Regions from separate parts of the Homo sapiens genome. Here all the other regions are linked to region 5. The links are contacts of gene promoters, found by promoter capture Hi-C in blood cells and fetal thymus (Javierre and others, 2016). All regions are on one chromosome and are shown on one strand. The core of a region is centred on a gene start or on the middle of the fragment in contact, and the rest is flanking DNA. Distances in the headings are between cores, read along the strand shown.

Region 1 (3,324 bases), core at 579-3,078, 520 kb before region 5:
GTTGTGCGACTATCAGCACTATCCACTTCTAAACCCTTTCATCATCCCACACAGAAACTGGGTTCCCATCAAACAACAACTTCCCATTCCCTTCCTTCCCCAACCCCTGGTAACCTCTATTCTACTTTCCATCGCTATGAATTTCACTATTCTAGATATTTCAGACACGTGGAATAATAGAGTATTTGTCATTTCGTATAAGGTTTATCACACTTAGCATAATGTCCTCAAGATTCACACACATTGTAGGATGTACATGTGGTATATCCATTGTATATTTATCCATCCATCCATTAATGGACATTTGGGTTGTTCTTACCTTTTGGTTATTATGAATAATGCTGCAGTGAACATTGACTTACAAGTATCTGTTTGAGTCCTTGTTTTAAACTCTAGTGAACATATGCTTTGGGGGAGGATTGCTGAATCATATGGAAATTCTATGTTTAGCTTTTTAGGGAACTGCCAAACTCTTTCCCACACTGGCTGCACCTGCACCATTTTACATTACTACCAGCAATGTATGAGGTTTCCCATTTCTCCATGTCTTCATCAACATTTTCCTTTTTTAAAATGTATAGCGGCTGGGCCTGGTGGCTCACGCCTATAATCCCAGCACTTTGGGAGGCCGAGGTGGGCGGATCATGAGGTCAGGAGATCGAGACCTCATGATGGCCAACATGGTAAAACCCGATCTCTACTAAAATTCAAAAAATTAGCTGGGCCTGGTGGCGCGTGCCTGTAATGCCAGCTATGTGGCAGGCTGAGGCAGGAGAGTCCCTTAAACCTGGGAGGCAGAGGTTGCAGTGAGCTGAGATCACGCCACTGCACTCCAGCCTGGCGACAGAGCAAGACTCCATCTCAAAAATAAAATAAAATAAAATAAATAAAATAAAATAAATAAAATAAAATGTATAGCTATCCTAGTAGATGATGCAGTTGTATTACTGTGGTTTTGACTTGTATTATCCTAATGATTAAGGATATTGACATCTTTTATGTGCTTATTGGCCATTTGCATATCTTCTTTAGAGAAATGTCTATTCAAGACCTTTGCCTGTGTTTTAATTGGATTGTTTATCTTTTTTTGTTGAGCGTTGTTCTTTATGTATTTTGGAGATTCATCTCTTATCAATTATATATTTTGCATATTTTATCCCATCTGTACTTTGTCTTTTAACTTTTCTTGGTAATGTCCGTTCATGTACAAAAGTTTTTAATTTTGATAAAGCCCAATTTTTCTTTGTTGGTGTTGCTCATGCTTTTGGTGTCATATGTAGGAACCCATTGCCAGCTCCAAGGACCTGATTTACCCCTATGCTTTCTTCCAGGTGTTTCAAGTTTAGTTCTTATATTTAGATTGTTGATCCATTGATCAATAATTCTATGAATATTTTATTTACATGATTTTATGAACCATGTAGGGGAGAGGCCAACCTCATTCTTTTTCAAGTGGAAATCCAGTTGTCACAGTACCACTTGTTGAAAAGATAGTTCTTTCACCATTTGGCACTCATGTCAAAAATCAGTCATAGACATATGAGCTTATTTCTGGACTCTCAGTTCCATTGGACCATATATCCTTATGCCAAACCTGTTTTGATTATTGTAGCTTTGTAGTAAGTTCTGACATTGGGAAGTGTGAGTCCGACTTTGTGCTGCCTTTACAGATTGTTTTGGCAACTTCAAGTTTGTGTGTGTGTGTGTGTGTGTGTGTGTGTGTGTTTTAATGCCTTGCGGGGATTTTTTTTTTTTAATGAATTTGAGGATCAGTTTTTCTATTTCTGCAAAAACGCTGTTGGTATTTGAGTAGGATTGCATTGACTCTGTAGATAGCATTGGGTAGTACTGACAACAATATCAAATCTTCCTATGACCATATGATGTCTTTCCATTTCATTAGGTCTTCTTTAATTTCTTTTAGCCATTTTTAAAATTTTTCACTGTGTAAGTTTTCATCTTCTTGGTTAAAGTCATCTTTTGGGTAAAATTTGTTTCTAGGTATTTTATTCTTTTAGATGGTATTATTAAGTACAATTATTTTCTAAATTTCATTTGCAGATTGTTCCTTGCAGATATATAGAACCACAATTGATTTTTGTGTGTTGATCTTGTACCCTTGAACTTTGATGAATTCATTTATTAGTGCTAGTGGCTTTCTTATAGATTCTTTGGGATTTTCTATATATGGGAGTTTTCATCTGCGAATTGAGTTTTACTTCTTCCTCTCCAATTTGGATGCCCTTCATTTCTTTTTCTTGTCTAATTGCTCTGGCAAGAACTTCCAGTACATCGTGGAATAGCAGTGGTAAAGTGCACATCTTTGTTTTGACCCTGATCTTAGAGAAAAATCTTTCAGTCTTTCACCATTGAGTATGATGTTAGCTCTAGGTATTTCATATATGGCTTTTGCCATGTTGAAGAAGTTTCCATATACTTCTCGTTTTCTGAGTGGGTTTTTTTGTTTGTTTGCTTGTTTGGTTGGTTGGTTGGTTTTTTGAGACACAGTCTCACTCTGTTGCCCAGGCTGGAGTGCAGTGTCGTGGTCTCAGATCACTGCAACTGCTACCTCCAAGTTCAAGGAATTCTCATGCCTCAGGCTCCCAAGAAGCTGGAATTACAGGCATGTGCCACCATGCATGGCTAATTTTTGTATTTTTAGTAGAGACGGGGTTTCACCATGTTGGCCAGGCCGGTCTCGAACTTCTGACCTCAAGTGATCTGCCCGCCTTGGCCTCCTAAAGTGCTGGGATTACAGGCATGAGCCACCGTGCCTGGACTTCTAAGTGTTTTTATCATGAAACAGTGTTAGCTTTTGTCAAAGGCCATTTCTGTGTCAATTGAGATGATTCTGTGATTTTTTTTTTCATTCTACTAATGTGATGTATTATTTTGATTAAGTTTCTGATGTTGAACCACCCTTGCATTCTTGGATAAATTCCACTTAGTCATTGTGTGTGATCATTTTAATATGCTGTTGGATTCAGTTTCTAATATTTCTTTTTTTTTTTTTTTTTGAGACAGAGTCTTGCTCTGTCACCCAGGCTGGAGTGCAATGGTGTGATCTCGGCTCACTGCAACCTCCGCCTCCTGGGTTTAAGCGATTCTCCTGCCTCAGCCTCCCAAGTAGCTGGGACTACAGGCGTGCGCCACCATGCCCGGCTAATTTTTGTATTTTTAGTAGGGACGGGATTTCACCGTGTTAGCCAAGATGGTCTCGATCTCTTGACCTCATGATCTGCCCGCCTTGGCCTCCCAAAGTGCTGGGATTACAGGCATGAGCCACCGTGCTCAGCTTCAGTTTGCTAATATTCATATGAGGAT
Region 2 (3,378 bases), core at 720-3,219, 580 kb before region 5:
GAGAATAAAAGCAGGCTGCCCGAGCCAGCATTGGCAACTCGCTGGGGTCCCTTTCTACGCTGTGGAAGCTTTGTTCTTTCACTCTTTGCAATAAATCTTGCTACTGCTCACTCTTTGGGTCCACGCTGCTTTTATGAGCTGTAACACTCACCGCGAAGATCTGCAGCTTCACTCCCGAGCCCAGCAAGACCACGAGCCCACCGGGAGGAACGAACAACTCCAGACGCGCTACCTTAAGAGCTGTAACACTCACCGCGAAGGTCTGCAGCTTCACTCCTGAGCCAGCGAGACCACGAACCCACCAGAAGGAAGAAACTCCGAACACATCTGAACATCAGAAGGGACAGACTCCAGACGTGCCACCTTAAGAGCTGTAACACTCACCGCGAGGGTCCGCGGCTTCATTCTTGAAGTCAGTGAGCCCAAGAACCCACCAATTCCGGACACGCTAGTATCCGTATCGTTACCAAAGCCAGGGACCTGGAAGTCATTTTTGACTCCCATTGCCTCTCCCCAGCTCAATTCATGACCATTTCTAGCTATTCCATCTCCAACATACATTTCAAAGCCATGCACTTCTTCCATCTTCTCTGCCACCATTCATTCAACAGCCCCAGCTTCCTAAGTGACCCCTCATTACCACTCCAGCCCCTCTTCAATCTGTTCTCCACACAGCCCTTCCAATGGGGCTTCTAACACTGCACATGAAACTGTGCTTAACGCTCCTTAAAGGCTCACCATGAGCGGCAGCTAAACCCTCCACTGGCCGTGGCCTCCGTGGCCTTTTCCTTGCCTTCTTCCAGCCCTGTGAATGTGCCAAGCGCTTTCCTACCTAGGACTCCTCCACACTCCCCCACCCCCAATCACGCGTGCCTGCACACACACACACTGCATTCAGGAAGGCCTGAAGCAAGAGGAAGCAAAGTCCACTCAAGAAACTCGAGAAAGACCTTCACAGCTATCTGCAGCAGAGAGAAAGAGGCAGAGCCCAGTACAAGATGACACTGAGGAGGTAAGGAAGGGCGGGATCATTCAAGACCCCAGTGTAGGCCAAGTTGAGGGATTTGGGACCTTTGACTGAAAGCACTGGAAAGCCACTGAAGTGTTTCAAGTCAATGGGTAACATAATTAGGCTTGAATGTTGAAAAGGTAATTCTGGCTACAGAGTAGAAAAACAGAGGGGTCAAGAGCAGATGTGGGTATGCACCAGGCCAGGCCGGCAACACGGTGGGGACTAAGGAGACAACAATGCACATGAGGAAAGTGACTAAATTTTAGGGCTACTTAGGATGTTAAAAAATGGCAGTGTTTACTACATGAACACATATAATTTGAGATTTTTAAAAGGTTTGCCATGCAAGTATTACTAGAGGTAACACATTGGCTAAAATTCATTCCTAACAATAGCATCAGCTATCAGCAGTAAAGGACTGGCCACCAATCCTTCCTGTGGGAGGAAGGAGGGGGATTACAAGGAAAGTAGAATGAAAGAAAAGAAAGATACTAGCTCATAAATTAGGGCAGAGGATGGGCAAGGGGCCAAAAATAGGAAGCAGAGGAAGTGCAAATAGTGCTGACTTTTCAACTCTGCCTAACAGTGACTCTAACAACCTTCAACTGGATTGGGAAGAACAAAAGCTATTCTCAGAAAAGCTTGTCTTCTGAGGTTGCAATTTAACATGATCAATGAAATATTTTGTTATAAATATGCACAACTCAAAGGATATTCGTTATAAAAAAAAAATAAGGATCATAGAATTTTCAGAGATGGAAGGGACTTAGAGGTCATTTAGCCAGGCTCAGGCTCAGGATCCAGAAACTCTTCTCTCCACCTATAGGCACTTCAGGAAGATTTCATCTGGAGCTAAAAGAATAGCGCCCTTCTATCCAGGTCAATAATTAAAATGTATGAGGGTCTCAAAAGTGAACTGAAGAACTGCTAGGCAAACAAGCAGTATCCAAAGTTTTAAAATAATGGGGAGGAGTAAGAGGGTTTAGGTTCCCCAAAATTTTTCAGCTACTTTGCCAATGAGTTTTATTTTTAAGAACACACAGATAATGAATGACTAATTTTAAGCCATTCATCAAAGGAGATTACTTTGGCAATATTTTTTTACCAACTTGTTTTGGGGTTAAAGAAAAAAATTCAGATGTTCCTTTTGGTTTAGGGACCAGCAAGATCTGAATTTCTATTTCCAAAGCTACTGCATACTTGGCTAATTCCAGCATCTAACAAAGAACCGGAAGAAAGAACATAAAAGTTTCACATATAGTATTAAAGCTTCTACAATACTAAAGACCTCAGCTGTCTTTCCATCTCCTACAGTATACTTCAGTAAACATCTGAAAGAAAGATTTTCTCAATGATGTCTGGACTAAACCTTAAAAAAGTTGTGGTGGCTAGCCTCCAAGAATACTGATGTGCCCTGACCTCCCCTCTTGTAGTCCTTTCCCACATTGTGCCAGGTCTGGTCTGAATGCTGGTAGAAGGGATGGTATGCCATCTCCAAGATTAGACACTGGATTAGTCTGTTCTCATGCTGCTATGAAGAAATATCCGAGACTGGGTAATTTATAAAGGAAAGGGGTTTAATTGACTCACAGTTCCGCAGGGCTGGGGAGGCCTCAGGAAACTTACAATCATGGCAGAAGGAACCACTTCACAGGGCAGCAGGAGAGAGAATGAGTGCCAGCAGGGGAAATGCCAGACGCTTGTAAAACCATCAGATCACGTGAGAACTCACTATCAGGAGAACAGTATGGGAGAAACTGCCCTCATGATTCAATTACCTCCCACCGAGTCCCTCCCACAACGTATGGGGATTATGGGGATTACAATTCAAGGTGAGATTTGGGTAGGGACACAGCCAAACCATATCAGCCACGAATATACTGCTGCTTCCATCTTGATCATTATCATATTCATTCTCTCCCTCTCTCCCCACCCCCGTCAGATCACTTGCTCTGGGGAGAAAAGCTATGTTGTGAAAAGCCCTGTGCATAGGCCCACATGGTGTAGAACTGAGGCCTCCAGCCAACAGCCATGTGAACGTGCCATTTTGGAAACAGATCCTCTGGTCCCAGTCGAGCTTCAGATGACTGCAACCTCAGGAGAGACCATGAGCCAGAAGCACCCAGCCAAGCTGTCCCCAGATTTCAACTTCAGAAACTGTGTGAGATCATAAATGTCTGTTGTTTTAAGCTGCTAAGTTTGGGGAAATTTGTTATGCAGCAACAGAAAACTCATTCAAAAGGTAGGCAAACTTTACAGGCAGCCAGGCACGCAGGACCAAACTACTATATTTCCTTCATCTCATGCCGTATAGCTTGGAACAATGCTATATATAAAAAATGCCCACAAAGCACTGACAAAAGCAA
Region 3 (3,212 bases), core at 466-2,965, 650 kb before region 5:
TGCTGCGAGCATGGAGTACCATGAGAACAGGAATGCACCCGGGACGTGGCCACGTGGAGATTGGTAGGGACCCTGATAAGAGCCAAGAGCTATCACAGTAGAGTGGGGGAAGAAGGCCTCGGAAAGAATGGCTGATGAGCAAGTGGACCTGCCAGGAAACTCTTCCCCATGGTGGTGTTGCTGTGGAGGGTGGGACAGAAATGCATGGAGCTAGAAGGAACATGCAGTTGGGAGGGCTCCCCAACCAACAAGCCCTGGGGCTCCCACGCCTCCACCACCCGGCCTCAGTGGTCATTTCACAGTTCCTGTCACTTGCACTCCAGCACAGAGGATATCACAGCCCAGATACCAGAGTTTTTTCCACCCATTCCAAGGATTGGGCTCAGAGGAAACAATTAGAAGCCTCCAGTTACTCTCTGGGGCTCTTAAGAGCTCCTGTCTGGAGACCTGGCCCTCTGGGCTCAGCCGCTAACAAGAGCCATCCCCTGTGTCCCCACGGTGACCGATCAAAGCGCCACCTGTAGCGAGTTATTTAAGGAGAAGAGCTGGGCTTATGGAGGAACCGTGGAAAGATCACAGGCTATCTTCAGAGAAGCTGCTGGTGGAATTCCCAAGTCCTTACTGGGTTTGGGGCTTGATTACCCACTCAGTGCCCAGCTGGTCATCATCATGTTGGCCAACCACCAGAGGGGAAAAAAAATTGCCTCCAAAATTTATCAGCAGCCAGGTCACCACCTTTGCTGTGAGATGAAACTACATCTGAAGAATATTTATTCTGGGGAGCAGAGAAGGGGAACGGCAGAATGGTTCATTTCAAACTTTAGTGGCTTTGTCTGGGTTTTGCTCAATCCCCAGCTAACGGCTAAACTATCTGAACTCCAAACCAAAATAAATACACCTCTGAAGTTAAACAATGTTATTACATCAAGGCTGATGTAATGGTTCCAAACCATGAGAAAATAATATTCCAGCATAATGGGTCCCTCTGTTTAGCCAGAGGAAAGGCTGGGCTTCTGGCTCCTTGTCAACTGGAATTTGGCGTTTTCTATCATTGTTGAGCTGGGTGTGTGTATCTGTGTGTGGGACCTAATTAAAGATGCTTTAGGACTTGTGGTGTGAAAGCGTACAGATAGATTTTAAAATATAATTGAGTGGTACAGAGTAGGTCTCTGGACCAACCCAAAGAAGGGCCCCTGCCTGCCCTCCCCCTTGGGTCCCTCCCAGAATCAGCTTCCCCCAGAGTGACATTGAGGATTTCGATGGCCCCTCCAGGTTCAGGGATGGAAAAAGGTTATGTGGCTTAAAGGCTGTTTCATTGTGAAAGACAACTTCCAAATAAAAGAGAAAGTGGTACCCGCCCCCAGGAACATATCTGCACGTGCTGCTCTGCACCCTCGGGTGTCTCCAGGCAGACGGAAGCTGACTCCCACAGCCGAGCTGAGCTGAGCAGGGCACAGGCTTAACAGGGAACATCCACTGGGTTGACACTGCACCAATGGTGCCTACAGGCGGGCAGCTAGCTCTGCCCCTGGGCTTGAGGGCTTGGTCCCTAGGGCTCTGTTCCCGTGTACACTTTACCAGGGTCAAGTCAGGCAGACAGTGCCTGGAAGACGCGCCCTCTCACCCTCCCCCACCTCGCTGGAGGCTGCCGTAGGAAGACTTTGACATAGGGAGTCCCAGGGTGCCCGGTCAGGTTCACAAGTCAGAGACGTCTGCCAACTAATGAAACTGAGCGCTTCCGATTTCAGGTTCTCCATAGAGTGCAAAAGGCTTTTTGGTTTGGGTTTTATTTTTAACATACCATTCATCAACACCAGCTGTCAACCACATGCAGAACTCACAGCTAGCCTCTGCCCCAGGCCCATGGGCTTCTTAATCAAATCAGGCCGAGGCATGCGTGGGGAACAAACATGCATTGTGTCCTATCTCACTGAATCCTTACCACAAAATTATCATTAATCCCTCTTTGCAGATGAGGAAACAGAGGCTCAGGGAGGTTTAGGAACTGGCCCGGCATTCCTTGTGTGGCATCTGGCAGCGCTACAGACCTCATCTGTTAGATGGGGATGACATCCCGCTCCGCGGAAGCTGTGTTAGTTTGCTAGGGCTGCCCTTACAAAGTAGCACAGACGGGATGGCTCAAACAACAAGATTTATTTTCTCACAGTTCTGGAGGCTGGAAGTCCAAGATCAAGGTGTCGGCACGGTTGATGTCTCCTGCAGCCTCTCTCCTGGGCTTGCAGGTGGCCGTCCTCTCCCTGTGTCTTCACACGGTCTTCCCTTTGTGTGTGTCTGTGTCTTAATCTCCTCTTCTTATAAGGACACCAGTCACACTGGATTAGGGCCCAACCATATGACCTCTTTTTACTTTGATTATCTCTTTAGAAGCCCTATCTCCAAATCTCCAAATACAGTCACCTTCTGAAGTGCTGGGAGTTCAGGCTTGGACATATGAGTTTCGAGGGGACATGGCTCACAGCAGAGGTGCCGGCAGGGTCAGGGGAGATGATGTAGGCTGAGTGCCTGGAGCTGCATGTGCCCCCGGCAGCCTCACTTGGGTCAGGGGTGGGATGGTGTACAGCAGGTTCTAAGAACCATCACCTGTCTTTACTGGGTGCCTGCTCCACTGCAGGCCATGGTGGCTGTGGGATGGCCTGGATAGGAAAGTGCAGCGAAGACCAGCTGTTCCCAACACAGCGGAGCCATTCCAGAGAGCCAGAGCAGGCAGGTGGGGCTCTGCAAATATGTTCAACCCCCCACACCCCTGCCGACAGCACAAGACTGTGCAGGCTCTCCCGGTGCCCTACAACCTTGGGCTGGGACCTCTCTCCGACAGCCAAAGCAACCTGGACACCCTCCAGTTCTCATTTCTCCCCTATCCCCAAGCAGCATGTAGCGGGGGCCAGCAAGAATTTGCTGAATGAGTGAAGAGATGTAAGTTCTGACGGATTCACTCCTCCTGCTCTGCCCTCATTTCTTTCCTACTGAAACTTCATTTCTTCCAGAACAAGAGGCTGGGCTCAGTAGGATTCTGGACTGGACTCACTGTCCACCAGCAGGGCTGGGGCACTTCCCAGTCGGGGCTGCCCCTGGAGTGTCAGGCCCCTGGCAGACAGGGAGCAAGACCTCCCGAAAGCCCCACACACACACTCACACTCTCCATTCTTGGCTCACTCCACCCTTGCAGCGAGGATGGCAGGCTCCTATTTCCC
Region 4 (3,413 bases), core at 858-3,357, 620 kb before region 5:
TAAGGAATACGACTTAGCCATGAAAAGACAAAAAGAAGAAAGGGGTATTTTCCTACACCCATACAATTCAAGAATCTCTGCAGGAGAAAAAAAAAATCCATACACATACCAAAAGCAATTTTTCCCTAATAAAGAACATAATTTGCACAGATGAGTTGATAAGTTGGCCAATCGCACATGGATAAGTGCTGACTTAAAGTTACACAGGTATCTTAGTTACCTTGACCCAGGAAGTCAGGGCCTTTAAGGAAGCCACACTCCACTGCTGTCTCCACAGCCAGAATCGAGTCCCCAGCACTTCCCCCACTTCACTGAGTGCCAGCCCCTGCAGAATGCCGCAGCCCTCCCCCAGGCTGAGAAACCCTGGCCTGGGGCTACGTTTCCAGCTGCGCTGGGATGAAGAAACTTCATGGGTCAGGACATCTTCTTGTCTTAGATTCTCACTCAAACCAATGTGTGGCTAATTAAGGCAGTCTAGACTCACAGAGTTTTACCACAGGATTAAAATAATATCATACATGTGTTTTCGCCACATAAATCAGATTTTAGGAAAACTTTCCCAGCTGCAACTACTGAAAATACACAAGAAGTAACTGATGACTTAGCCCATAAGAAGTTAACCAGCTCATCCCTTTGATTCCTGTGCAACACTCACCTTGAGATGTTTTTAACTACTAGAAATAAGTAAGCTTGGTTTGTTGTTGTTGTTGTTGTTGTTGTTGTTGTTGTTGTTTTGAGACAGAGTCTGGCTCTGACGCCCAGGCTGGAGTGCAGTGGCGCAATCTCAGCTCACTGCAAGCTCCGCCTCCCGGGTTCACACCATTCTCCTGCCTCAGCCTCCTGAGTAGCTGGGACTACAGGCGCCCGCCACCACGCCCGGCTAATTTTTTTTTGTATTTTTAGTAGAGACGGGGTTTCACTGTGTTAGCCAGGATGGTCTCGATCGCCTGACCTCATGATCCACCCGCCTCAGCCTCCCAAAGTGCTGGGATTACAGGTGTGAGCCACCGCGCCCAGCCGTAAGCTTGTTTTAACATGTGAAGTTGATGGACACTAACTTTCCCAAGGATTCCGGAACTTGAAAACTGTTTAGGTATCTGGTCCTTCTTCACTGCCACCTGAGAAGGCTTGTGGAGGCTGCACTGCGGAGAAGCAGCTTCACACTCCTGGCAGCTGGGGGCTCCGTTCCTGCTCCCAGGCCGCAGCACCTTCACCAACCTGGGTGGGAGGCCGAATCCTCAGCTTAGCCAGGTTTCTGTGCTTCTCAGACACGACCAGAGGCCCCATTCCGACTTGAGCTACGTGTGTGGCAATGAATCATCCTGACAGTACTGTCAGTGTGACTGAACACGTCTAGCTTGGTGGCACACAACTGAACAAGTAGAAATGAACAGCAAGCTGCGGTGTGTCAGGACAAGCTCTAGCACTTGAATTAGACAAAGGCTGGGGCGGAAGGGTGTTGGAGGAAGTCTCTTTTTTCATTCATATCTACTCAAATAGAGAAGAACAGCCTTAAACCCAAGGGCCCAAATTAGTTTTAAAACTTGTACTACATCCTTTCTAAAAAGTCCTCAAAGCGGGCCTCGTGTAGCAACTTACAAAAGGAAATCAGGAAGTCTGCACTGACAATATGCATTTTAAAAAGCAGCATCACCAAGGAGCAGGTAACTCACCAACTGCAGCTGGCAAGCAGGATCGTCCCAAACCTGAGAACAAAAAATCTACAAAACCGCTAACAGCACAGGTAAATTAACTTAGATTTGTTGACCATATAAAAACAAGAGAACATCCCAAGTCAGCTACATTTCAAAAAAGATAAGACAAAGGATGTACTACTCCACACGGGCAGTTCAGGTTGTTACCTGCACAGGTAATAAACTGATCACCAAGAGGTAAAAGCAAAACATATAAGTGAAATCAACACAGGCTTAGTGAAAACTCACAATTCCCTCACTTGAAAGTTGGTATCAGAAGACAACTGACCAGGCCGGTCATGGTGGCTCACACCTGTAATCCCAGCGCTTTGGGAGGCCAAGGCAGGCAGAACGCTTTAGCCCAGGAGTTCAAGACCAGTCTGGCAACATAGCAAGACCCCATCTCTGCAAAAGCATTTAAAAATTAGCCAGGCATGGTGGCGTGCATCTGTATTCCCAGCTACTGTGGAGACTGAGACGGAAGGATTGCTTGAGCCCAGGAGTTCAAGACTGCAGTGAGTCATGATTGCACTACTGCATTCCACCGTGGGTGGCCAAGCAGGACCCTGTCTCAAAAATTAAATAAAGACAACTGGCCAGACCCAGGTCTGACCCCAAATGCTGAGGTCCATACTCCTGGAGAACAGAGATTGCCATAGGCCCTCAAGTTCAAAATGACCCCTGCATAAAGTCAAATCAATGTGTTCACTCTAATCTTTATTTAACATTGATCTGCAAAAAAAGGAAATTTTAAGTATTTGTGACAATGAAACCAGGGCAAAATGGAAAGCTGAGCCCAAAAGTTAGTCTCCCCTGAAGCCTCTCTTCAAATAATAGTATTTAAAAAACCCAAAGGGCAAAGAGAATGGAAGGGTCACTAGCTGATGTGTGAATCTGACAAATTTACAGAAGCTGAAACCCAGACGTGAGCCGTTCGATAAGGAAGGATCTGTTGAGATGAGGGCAACAGGACCGGCTCAGTCTGAACCGGCAGATGGAGCAGCAGAACCACGGTGCGTGGCTAGAGAGCCTAGGTAGAGGTCTGTGTGGGACACGGTCCACCCCACCCCTGCAGGCAGCTCTGTCCATCACCAGTGCTTTTCTCTTGGAAGAAACTGCCTGGAGTGAACCAAGGCATCCAGCCTGGCCAATGGCCCCCAGAGCACACCTTCCCTCGATTAGGCATTAGGGGTTCCCAGCACTATGACTGGTTTTCTACCCATTCACCCCAAAGTCAAGCCTGCTATTTCACAAGCCCCACTCATGTACATGGAACTCCTGGCCGACTTTCTATTTCCTCCTAAGAATATGGCTGGACAAGCAGGAATCATTAGATACGTGAGAAAAACTGCAGCTTAAAAAATAAAGAAGAAAAAGTGAATAAAAATACAACTTTCAAAAGATCTAATATCCTTCAAAAGTCAAGATATTGAATCCGTAAGGCCGCCAAGAACAGTTGCTATGAAAAAGGAACAAATAAAGACAAAGAAAGCTTTTGTTCACACATACACACGGTGAGCAAGTGAGAAGACAAAGTTGATCCCACTAGTGTAAGCTTCCAAAGGGCAAGGAATTTGTCTGTTTTGCTCACTGCTCTATCTCAAGAACTTACAACAGTGCTTGGCAAAGTGCTTGGAAAAACACAGGGAGGGAGGATAAATTTGAGAGAAAATAAAGATGGAAAATATAGGAAATGGATGGAGCAGACATGAATCTAGG
Region 5 (3,487 bases), core at 796-3,295:
CAGTCCACTGTATGCCCATGTATGACCACGGGATGGTTAGTGTTGATCACTAGGTCTCCCAAGAAACTGGCAGGGATGCCCACCACAGCCCCAGCAGGGAGTCTTGGGAAGCCTGCACTCACAGGTTGGAAGGTGAAGGTGGTGAAGGGCTTGTAGCAATGGCCTGAAGGAACACCTATGTCCTGTAGCACCTCTTGGAAGAGGCTCTGCAGCTGTGGAGGGAGCGGAGCTGGCTGGCCCTGAGGCCAGTACTGGTAGAGCCATTGGACCACGGGATCCGGGAAGAGGTGGTACGAGATTGGAACTCCAAACAGGCCTGCACAGGAACCCACCAAGAGGCCTGTCCTGTGTCTCTGCACAAATGCTGCGGTCCGCCACAGGGGACCTGCCATGAGTGTAGTCACTGCGGACAATCTGGGCCAAGAAAAAGAGAAGTCAGCCAGTTTCCCTGGGTCAGCCTGCAGACTGAACATCCTCCAGGGTCCACACCACCTTTTTAAACCAAAGTAACACAGCATAGTGGTGAAGAGTGTGGGCTCTAGAGCCAGAGTGCCTGTGTTCAAATCCCAGCTCCGTCTCTGTGCGTCAATTTCCCCATGTGCCAAACAGGTGTGTCGTAATGGCCCACCTCTAGGGTGGCGGTGATGAGCACATGAATAAACATACATAAAACATTTAGTGTCTGGCACAGCAGCAGATATTCCTTATAATAATGGCTGTAATGACTTTTATTCCCATCGCTGGGCACGGCACTCCAACTGCCTCATTCCACTCATCCCATGGTAAAGCCCTATGATTACTAATTTATAAGGAAAAACGTGTTCAATTTATTGAGTGCTTACTATATGCTAGACTCAGTTCTGAGCACTCTTACCGATTGAACCCTCACAACCCCATGACCTAATTACTACAGCTAACCCTATTTCAAAGCTGTGAAAACTTAAATGGCCAAAATCCTAAGCTAGTGAAGTGACAGTGTTATGGGCTGCACTGTGTCTCCTCCTCCTCCCCAGTTCATATATTTAAGTCCTAACCCCCAGTACCTCAGACTGTGGCTGTATTTGGAGACAGGGTCTTTAAGGAGATAATTAAGATAAAATGAGGCCATCAGTATGGATCCTAATCCAATTTGACTGGTGTACTTATAAGAAGAGATTAGGATGCAAACAGGCACAGCAGGAAGATCATGTGAGGATCCAGGGAAAAGGCTACCACCTACAAGCCAAGAAGGGAGGTCTCAGAAGACACCAACCCTGTTAACACCCTGGTCTTGAACTTCCAGCCTCCATAACTCCCAGAGGACAAATTTCTGCTGGTTGGGCCACCCAGTCTCCGGTACTTCGGCATGGCAGCTCTAGCAAGCTAACACAGGCATAGTCAGGTGTCCACAGCAAACTTTTTGTTTTAGAAAACTTGTTATGCCAAATTACAAGCATATACCAAAGTAGACAAAATAGTACATCCATCAACTTCAATCCCATCAACTCATGGCCAATCTTGTTTGATTTCTCTTTCCACCACACTTCCGTCCAACTGGTTTATTTTGAAACATCCCCGGGCATCCTATCACTTCATCCGTGAATACGTCAGTAAAAATTCACAATTATTTCACTTTGATTGAAACTTACTGTATTCCTGTCCGTGAAAAGTGCTTAATGAGCAACGAATGAGTTGCCGCAAACAAAAACGCAGGGTACCGCTTGGCCTATCTTAATCAAGAACTCCTATAAGAATCATTATCATTCGGGCTTTTTTTTTTTCCCAATGCGGAAAGTGAGGCTAAGAAAGGAAAGGTCTGGACCAAAGTCCAACGTCCCTAGGGCCATCGCGCTGCGGGGTGGGCCTAGAACACAGTACCATGCAGCCCGCCGGTGGCTGGGGGAGGAGGGGCTGCAGGAGCCCCGCAGAGGGGTCCTCGCTACGCTTCCACTCTGGGCCCCTAGGCTACTCCGCAGTCTGAACGCGTTACCGGGTCGCATCAGGCCGGAGAAGGGTCCCTCCCGCTCGTCCGTGCGCTCACCTCCGCCGCCGCTCGGAACGCCTACATGTGCGCGCGGCAGGGCGGCCGCAAAGCACGCCGGCCGGGGATCTGGGGGCGGGGACTTCGGGAGGCGGAGCTCGCCGGCCCCGGATCTTGGGATGGGGACTTCAGGGGGCGGAGCTCGCCGGCCGGAGATCTCGGGGCGAGGATTTCAGGGAGGGGAGCTCGCTCGACGGGTCTGGGGGCGGGACTCTTGGGGGTGTGGCTGGGGGGGCCTCAAGGGGATGTCCGTGGGGGGCTCCGGCCGCCGCAGAGGCTCCTTCTCTAACTGTGCACCTTGGGGTGGGTCCGCTAGCACTTCCTCCTCTGCGTTGAAATGCGTCTTTGATTAATACAAAAATTAGCTGGGCGTGGTGGCGCACGCCTGTAGTCCCCAGCTGCTGGGGAGGCTGAGGCAGGAGAATCGCTTGAACCTGGGAGGCAGAGGTTGCAGTGAGCCGAGAATACGCCACTGCACTCCAACCTGGGCGACAGAGCGAGACTCCGTCACACACACACACACACACACACACCCCGGTGTCTTTGATCATGCCACACACACACACACACACACCCCGGTGTCTTTGATCATGCCACACACACACACACACACACACATACCCTGGTGTCTTTGATCATGACACACACACACACACACACCCACCCCGGTGTCTTTGATCATCACACACACACACACACACACACACACACATCCCGGTGTCTTTGATCATGCCGTTGAACCCCCGAAGGAACGGCAGCCCCGCGTGGGTCACCAGGCGGCCTATGGCAGGGCCCCCATCAGAACCCATGCCCATCTGACTGGCCGGCCCGTGTACTTCTCCGTCTGGAAGCGCTCACCCTTGGCGGGGAGCTCTGAGCTTTATGTTTATTACCATGTTCGCTGCCCCCCAAGCTCCTCCCAGGTGCTTCACACTGTACAGTCCACAGAGCAGCGTGCCATCTGTCATTTCTCCTTTCCAGCTGCTCTGTGAGGTAGATGAGGGATCATCTAATCTGTGCACCAAATCCAGCTCTCCACCTGCTTTTGTAAATAAAGTTTTCTTGGAACACAGCCATGCCCAATCCTTTACAGAGGGTGAAAACAGACTGCCTAGGGTTAAAGCCGGGCTCCACCCCTTACTAGCTGTGTGATAAAATGAGTTGGTGTATATGTAACCTGTGCCTCACGGTTTGTGCCGCCTAGCCATTAGCTATTATTATTAAAGTCTGTTCTGTTTCTGAGCCCCCCCCCCCAATTTTGGCTGCTCAGTTGTTTGTATGTAAATAGTGCAATGTGACCTCAGCCAAAGCCAGAATGTGGGACATTCTACAGGGCAAATGACGTGGTTTATCCAACAAATCAATGGCATAAACAGGGAAGGAGGGGGACTCAAAAGAAAAGAGACTTGAGAGTCATTGCAGTTAAATGCAATATGTGACTTTTATTGGGATCCTGAACCAAATAAA
Region 6 (3,176 bases), core at 86-2,585, 550 kb before region 5:
TTTCTCCACTTAGTCGTCTCCGCTTGCGGCTTCCTCCCATGAGTGAGGACCAAGAGAAGCCCCCTGTCTCTGATGAAAGTGGGGGATGAACACTGAACCAAACCCACACTGCTCAGCACATTTGATGCGGCCAGAAACAGACTGCAAAGGCTGAGAAAGCTTTTCAGGGGCCGTCTGGCTGTGTGGGTGCGAAGACCTGGCTGTACTTGGAATCACCTGGGAAGACTTACAAAAATGGTTTCCGAGCCTCACCCGCAAGGATTCTGACTTGGTGAGTCTGAATCACCAAGATTCTCGGGGTGAGGCCCCAGAATCTGCCTGTATGTAGCCAGCAATGCTGCATTTGGACCTGCATCTGGGGACCTCTGGGCCACCCTGGCCCCCTTAATTTATAAAGCAGAACCAGCCCCAGGGTGGAGAATGAATGAGGTGCCTGTCACCTGGTTACACAATTTAAGGTGTCCTTAGTTATGCCCAGCTGACTCGAGCACAGATCTTCCTGGGCACTCTCTTCTACACCAGCACAGGGTGGGGCGTGGGAGGGGAGTACGTGCCCATGCGGGCATCTACTGAATGTGCCAGGCCTGTATCTCTATTATCTCACCTCTATCCTGTGAAGTAGATATTATTATCCCCATTGTACAGATGAGAAAACCTAGACTCAGAGAGGCTGAGCCATTTGGTCAAGGACACACAGCTGCTGAAATGACAAGGCCAAGTTTGAACCCAGGTGGTCCCTTCTTTGGCCCATGCTTAACTACACCAGGGCACCCTCTTGATAGTGGTCTCCTTGGGGTTCTGTTGCAGCTCAGAGCACAAGCTTCTCCCTGATCGCTGCCCTATAGCTTATTTCCAATGTTTTTTTTTTTTTTTTTCTGGTTTTTAGTTGACTTTTCATCATATTCAGCCCAGTGACCTCTGGTCCTCTCTTGGGCTCTTTCAGCGTTATTCGGTGTTTTGTGTTTGTGCACCTTAACTGCGTGGAAAAGTGCTCGGTCCTTGGGAACAAGGGCCACAGGGCATTGCTTCCTTCCCCAGGGCCTGGCACCTACCGGGCACTAGCAGGCAGTCTGGCCATAGTAGCTGAGTGATGAGTGAACTGCTTGGAGGCTGTGCATGTTGCCCAGACTCTTTTAGGTCTATCTCCCCTAAAGGCATCTGTGAAAACACATAAAGCAACACCCTGAGGCAGCAACGGCTCCAGTCTGGGAGTCTGAGGAGCAGAAAGAAGCTGAGGTGGCCATAGGAGCCCCATGGGCAGTGAGGTGAGGCCAGGGAGATGGGCCACGGCCGGTCAGCCAGGGCCTTGAAGGGCACGGTAAAGCGTATGGATTTTGTCCTGAGAAACGAGAAGTCAGCTTTGACAGGGGAGGGCCATGCTCCTGTGGCCCGAGTCATCAGGCCGTGCTGCCTGCTATACTGCTGGATGCCCCTTTAAGTCAGGAGCCCCACACTGTTCATGGGGTAACTCCAGGGCCTGGCTCTCAGTGGCGTGCAGAGGCATTTATTTTATTTTACTTTTTTGCTGCTTTGCACCTGGCAATGGAAGAATGAAAGGCAACCCAGAGTGAAATTAGGATTACAATTTTACAAACGTCTGTTTCTGACGCAGGAAGCACATCATTTGTCCACATCACACTCTCTTGGAATTTATGACAAAGCCAGGTGAGAGCCGGGCTGGGAATGACCTTTGTCCAAGAAAAAAATGTTTTGCTGAGTAAATTAAGAGTGCAAATAAGACTGGGGAAAAAACTTAAATTGTACATGAAAACTTTTGAAAATATTTTAGTAATGTCAACTTAAGTACAATTGATACCTGGATTGCCTAATTCCATAATTCAGGAAGCTTCCCACTCACCTCCACAAAATATTAGTTTGAATTAATTATATTTAATTATATGTGAATGCCTCAAATTAAATGATCCCAATGCTCACTGTGTTGTTCATAACATTTGAAGGCTGTGATCTGACGCGGAAAACCCTGACTTCTGCATTTGCACACTCACAAACATGTCAACACTAGCCCTGTTTTTAGTTGACTTTTAATATTATACAGCCCTATACTTGAGTCTACCTTTGATTTCAGCCTCTTTAATTCTTCAACCCTGTGGAGTTTTCTAAATAAGCTCTGCCAGCTGCTATCAATACAAGCAGACTCACACCACAACTCGGGGTGGCACTGACTCCATTTCCTCAAAGATAACACAGAAAACAGAATAAAAGGCTGGGCACAGTGGCTCACGCCTGGAATCCCAGCACTTTGGGAGGCCAAGGCTGACAGATGACCTGAGGTCAGGAGTTTGAGACCAACCTGGCTAAGATGGTGAAACCCCATCTCTACTAAAAATACAAAAATTAGCTAGGCATAGTGGTGCACCTGTACCACCCAGCTACTCAGGAGGCTGAGGCAGGAGAATTGCTTGAACTCAGGAAGTGGAGATTGCAGTGAGCCGAGATCAGTCCACTGCACTCCAGCCTGGGTGACAGAGTGACTCCATCTAAAAAAAAAAAAAAAAAAAAAAAGGAAAAAAAAAGACACACTAGGCTTTATGTGTCAAGGGTCTTTAGAATGAAGTTGTCCCCCCTTATCCATAGGGGATATGTTCCAAGACCCCCAGTAGATGCCCAAAGCCGCAGATAGTACCAAACCCCTATACACACTATGTATTTCCCTGTGCATACACACCTACGATAGAGTTTAATTTGTAAATTAGGCACAGTACTCTTGTGCTTTGGAGCCATTATTAAGTCAAACACGGGTGACCTGAACAGAGGGACAGTGATCTGGCGGCAGCTGATGTGATCGCCCAGGGAGCACGCCCGGTGTGAAGATGCTGGACAAAGAGAGGGGTCACGTCCCAGGCTAGATGGAGCAAGATTTTGTCACGCTACTCAGAACAGAGTGTCATTTAAAATTTAGGAGTTATTTCTGGAATTTTCCATTTAATATTTTCAAACCTCGGTGTACTGCAGGTAAATGAAAACTTGGAAAGATAAACCTCAGATAAGGGGGGACTACTGTATTCATTCCTTCACCATGGCATGTCTGTGTCTGAGAATCTACCCTTAAAAACAATCTGGATGCAAAGAAGCCGTAAGATAGAGCGCAGTCCCTTCATTTCATAAAAGAATGAAACTAACTCAAATACACAATGCAATGGGTGAGTAAAGTATTG
Region 7 (3,041 bases), core at 38-2,537, 600 kb before region 5:
TTCAGATGCCCAAGAGTCTAAGACAAACTTCACGTGGACCCTTTCTTTCTAAGCTGACTTTCCTCTAAGCTGCCAGAGACTGAAAGTCTGAAACGGTTGCTGCCAAAGCCTCTCCATCCCCAACCTTACTCTCCCAAAAAAGGCAAAAACGAGTATGTTAGGCCGAGCATAAGGAGCTTAAAATCTGACTGCTGCCACCCTGGCAGCTCCCTCCAATTTTTCTCAAAGTCAGAACTTAGACAAGAATAAAGACTCTGGGACTATGGCTCCTTCCATAATCTAATCTTCATGAAAATTCCATCACATAAGCTAAACAATTTTAAATAAGGGTTAAGCATGCACTATGAACAAAGAGTCTGAATGGTGCAGGAGACTTTAGACCAGGGGTGTCCAATCTTTCGGCTTCCCTGGGCCACATCGGAAAAACTGTCTTGGGCCACGCATAAAATACACTAACACTAACGATACCTGATGAGCTAAAAAAATATATTGCAAAAAGAATCTCTGAATGTTTTAAGAAAGTCTACAAATCTGTGTTGGGCCACATTCAAAGTCATCCTGAGCCACAGGTTGGACAAGCTTGATTTAGACAGCCGGCCTCCCTGAACACAGAGCTCAATTTCCTGACTAGATGATCTCTCAGGCAGGAGCTGCCACACCTGGCCACGCGGCAGAACCACCAGAAGAGCACCACTGAAAGAGTCCCAGTTCTCCAACTCCACCAATATTATTCAGGAGGTGTTTTTTTTTTTTAAAGTCTCCCAGGAAATTCTATAATCAGCTAGGTTTGACAATTACTGCTAAGGTCTCTTCGAGCTAAAAAATTATGATTCTAGAACCATTCTGTCCAATATAGTAGCCACCAGCCACATTTCAAATGCACAATAGCCACTTGTATTGGACAGTATAGATACAGAACATTTTCATCATCATGGAAGTTTCTATTAGCACCGTTTTAGAAAATCGATTAGAACTCCTCCCCCAAACATACATCACTTCATTTCTATTCCTTCCTTGCCCCAATTTTATTTTACAATTTCTTCAATAACTGCCACTTTCCAGTTCTCAAGTATGTTAGCCCATGAGAAAAACAGACTAAGGCCAGGCACAGCTTTCCCTGGTCTCTGTGAAGAGAACAGAAAGAAGAGAAAAAACTCTCGAATCTTCTGCATGCATCTGCCCCCTCCTCTTACCCACCCCCGCCCCCCTCCCCAACACACACACACCCAGAAACCTCCAGACCAGGCTCTCCTAGTCTCCTCAGCAGTGCTAGCTCTGTTATCTTTTTTTTTTTGAGATGGAGTTTCGCTCTTGTTCCCCAGGCTGGAATGCAATGGTGCGATCTTGGCTCACTGCAACCTCCATCTCCCAGGTTCAAGCGATTCTCCTGCCTCAGCCTCCCAAGTAGCTGGGATTACAGGTATGCACCACCACACCAGGCTAATTTTGTAATTTTAGTAGAGATGGGTTTTCTCCATGTTGGTCAGGCTGGTCTTGAACTCCTGACCTCAGGTGATCTGCCCGCCTCGGCCTCCCAAAGTGCTGAGATTACAGGCGTGAGCCACCGCGCCCGGCCCCAGCTCTGTATCTGAACTTGCTCTTGGAACTGGCAACCCAGGGCCTCTCAATCACTAACACTGTAGGGGAATCTTCTCTCCTTGGATCTGCCACGGCTCTGCCTCTAATGCAGGTTTCTCAACAGTGGCATTGTGGATATTTTGTGCTGGCTAATACTTTGTTCGGGGCTGTCCTGTGTGATGTAGGATGCTGAGTGCGTCCTTGGCCTCCACGCACTAGATGCTGGTAGCATCTTCCCCCAAGCTGTGATGGCCAAAAATGTCTCCAGGCACTTACGAATATTCCCTGGGGAAGCAAAATCCCCCTCTCTCACCTCTGTTAACAACTACTTCCCTAATCCTATCTCCCTAATCCTAATTCCCCTACTCACCACCCCCTCTCTTCCCCAACCTCTGTTATAGGGGAGAAAAAAGCTTTCGTAAGCAAATTATAAGTTTTTGAGCAAAAACAAACAAAAGACCTACAAAGCAGATGCAGATCTCCCAACCTGCTTCTCTTATGCAAAAACGTTTTGGGGAAATTCAGCAGATTACATTAGATTTATCCAGTTTGACCCCCCAGAATAAGATAAAGAAAAGCAGGTACCAAACACAAAAGTGTCTCATTATAAGACATGGGGAGCATGACCCAGGAGGATAACCAGGTTTGGGTTTGAAGCTTATTCATTATGGGGGCCCTTCCTTAAGATACAAAATTACACACGTAATACTGGACATTAAAGTAAATGTTGACATTGAATGAGAAATCATAATCCATTATAAAGTTTTAAAGATGAGTACTCCAGCGATCTCACCCCCGGGTGACTCTCAGTGAGGCGAAGGGAATACCCCCATGTTTCCATTTCATTTTATAAGACCGTCTAGGCTGGCTGGAGACTGTCCTGCCGGCCTTGGAGAAGCAAGCCACTGTGGTATGAGCTGCCTATGGAGACGGCACATGGCAGGGGCCTGCGGGCAACTTGTAGAATCCGAGCACCTGTGTCCTACACCCACAAGGAACTAAATTCTACCAACAATTAGGGAGCCTGGAAGAGGACCCCCACGCCTCAGAAGAGGTCACAGCCCCAGCTGACACCTTGAGTGGAGTCTTGTGGGACTCTGAGCAGAGGACTCAGCTGAGGCTCCAATTCTGGACCCATGGAAACTATGGAATGACAAATGTATGTTGTTTTAACCTGCTAACTTTGTGATTATTATACAGTAATAAAAAAAACTAATACAAACAGCACTGACATCACAAAATCCAGCAAAATAACAATATTTTTATTAATTAAACTGCCTGACATACCTCTAGAATACCTTCTACTTTTTTGTTTGCTGTATACTTTTTCTTGTCATATGCCAATGATTTTGAAACATTCCTATAGAGAATAAAAAATAATTTAGTCTTTCCTTTAGCATGGTTAATGAAAATGTCTTTTGTTCTGACAGCTTAGAAGAGGTTCTTTCAGCTTCACAACTACA

The links. The method cuts DNA at HindIII sites, captures the fragments that hold promoters and counts their contacts. A CHiCAGO score of 5 or more calls a contact.
Region 1: a contact is called between a fragment that was not itself captured here and the fragment with the promoter of TMEM177 in region 5, in 2 of 17 cell types (total CD4 T cells and non-activated CD4 T cells). The highest score is 6.6, in total CD4 T cells.
Region 2: a fragment that was not itself captured here is called in contact with the fragment with the promoter of TMEM177 in region 5 in 9 of 17 cell types (total CD8 T cells, non-activated CD4 T cells, total CD4 T cells and 6 more); the score reaches 12.6 in total CD8 T cells.
Region 3: a contact is called between a fragment that was not itself captured here and the fragment with the promoter of TMEM177 in region 5, in 1 of 17 cell types (monocytes). The highest score is 5.7, in monocytes.
Region 4: a fragment that was not itself captured here is called in contact with the fragment with the promoter of TMEM177 in region 5 in 9 of 17 cell types (activated CD4 T cells, total CD8 T cells, total B cells and 6 more); the score reaches 9.7 in activated CD4 T cells.
Region 6: a fragment that was not itself captured here is called in contact with the fragment with the promoter of TMEM177 in region 5 in 8 of 17 cell types (total CD8 T cells, non-activated CD4 T cells, total CD4 T cells and 5 more); the score reaches 13.3 in total CD8 T cells.
Region 7: a fragment that was not itself captured here is called in contact with the fragment with the promoter of TMEM177 in region 5 in 1 of 17 cell types (naive CD8 T cells); the score reaches 7.5 in naive CD8 T cells.

What each region holds. Positions count from the first base shown.
Region 1 is chr2:120,197,403-120,200,726 of GRCh38, reverse strand. No RefSeq gene overlaps it. Among named protein-coding and RNA genes, the nearest start is that of TMEM185B, 24 kb to the left of the region's middle. The HindIII fragment of the contact is 6,427 bases long and covers 1-3,324 here.
Region 2 is chr2:120,255,878-120,259,255 of GRCh38, reverse strand. The region is part of intron 1 of RALB (RAS like proto-oncogene B); the gene reads right to left. Among named protein-coding and RNA genes, the nearest start is that of RALB, 4.7 kb to the right of the region's middle. The HindIII fragment of the contact is 628 bases long and covers 1,656-2,283 here.
Region 3 is chr2:120,329,867-120,333,078 of GRCh38, reverse strand. All of the region lies in intron 1 of LOC105373989 (putative cuticle collagen 91), which reads right to left. Among named protein-coding and RNA genes, the nearest start is that of INHBB, 15 kb to the left of the region's middle. The HindIII fragment of the contact is 6,192 bases long and covers 1-3,212 here.
Region 4 is chr2:120,298,510-120,301,922 of GRCh38, reverse strand. No RefSeq gene overlaps it. Among named protein-coding and RNA genes, the nearest start is that of INHBB, 46 kb to the left of the region's middle. The HindIII fragment of the contact is 2,162 bases long and covers 1,027-3,188 here.
Region 5 is chr2:119,677,759-119,681,245 of GRCh38, reverse strand. TMEM177 (transmembrane protein 177) reads right to left here and starts at 2,045. Exons shown (of 2, transcript NM_030577.3): 1 at 1,970-2,045; 2 at 1-414. The coding sequence starts at 392. RefSeq lists a silencer at 1,969-2,198. The HindIII fragment of the contact is 6,463 bases long and covers 1-3,487 here.
Region 6 is chr2:120,229,163-120,232,338 of GRCh38, reverse strand. No RefSeq gene overlaps it. Among named protein-coding and RNA genes, the nearest start is that of TMEM185B, 7.4 kb to the right of the region's middle. RefSeq lists enhancers at 190-399, 1,132-1,181. The HindIII fragment of the contact is 1,026 bases long and covers 823-1,848 here.
Region 7 is chr2:120,280,732-120,283,772 of GRCh38, reverse strand. All of the region lies in intron 2 of RALB (RAS like proto-oncogene B), which reads right to left. Among named protein-coding and RNA genes, the nearest start is that of RALB, 29 kb to the right of the region's middle. RefSeq lists an enhancer at 1-140. The HindIII fragment of the contact is 1,412 bases long and covers 582-1,993 here.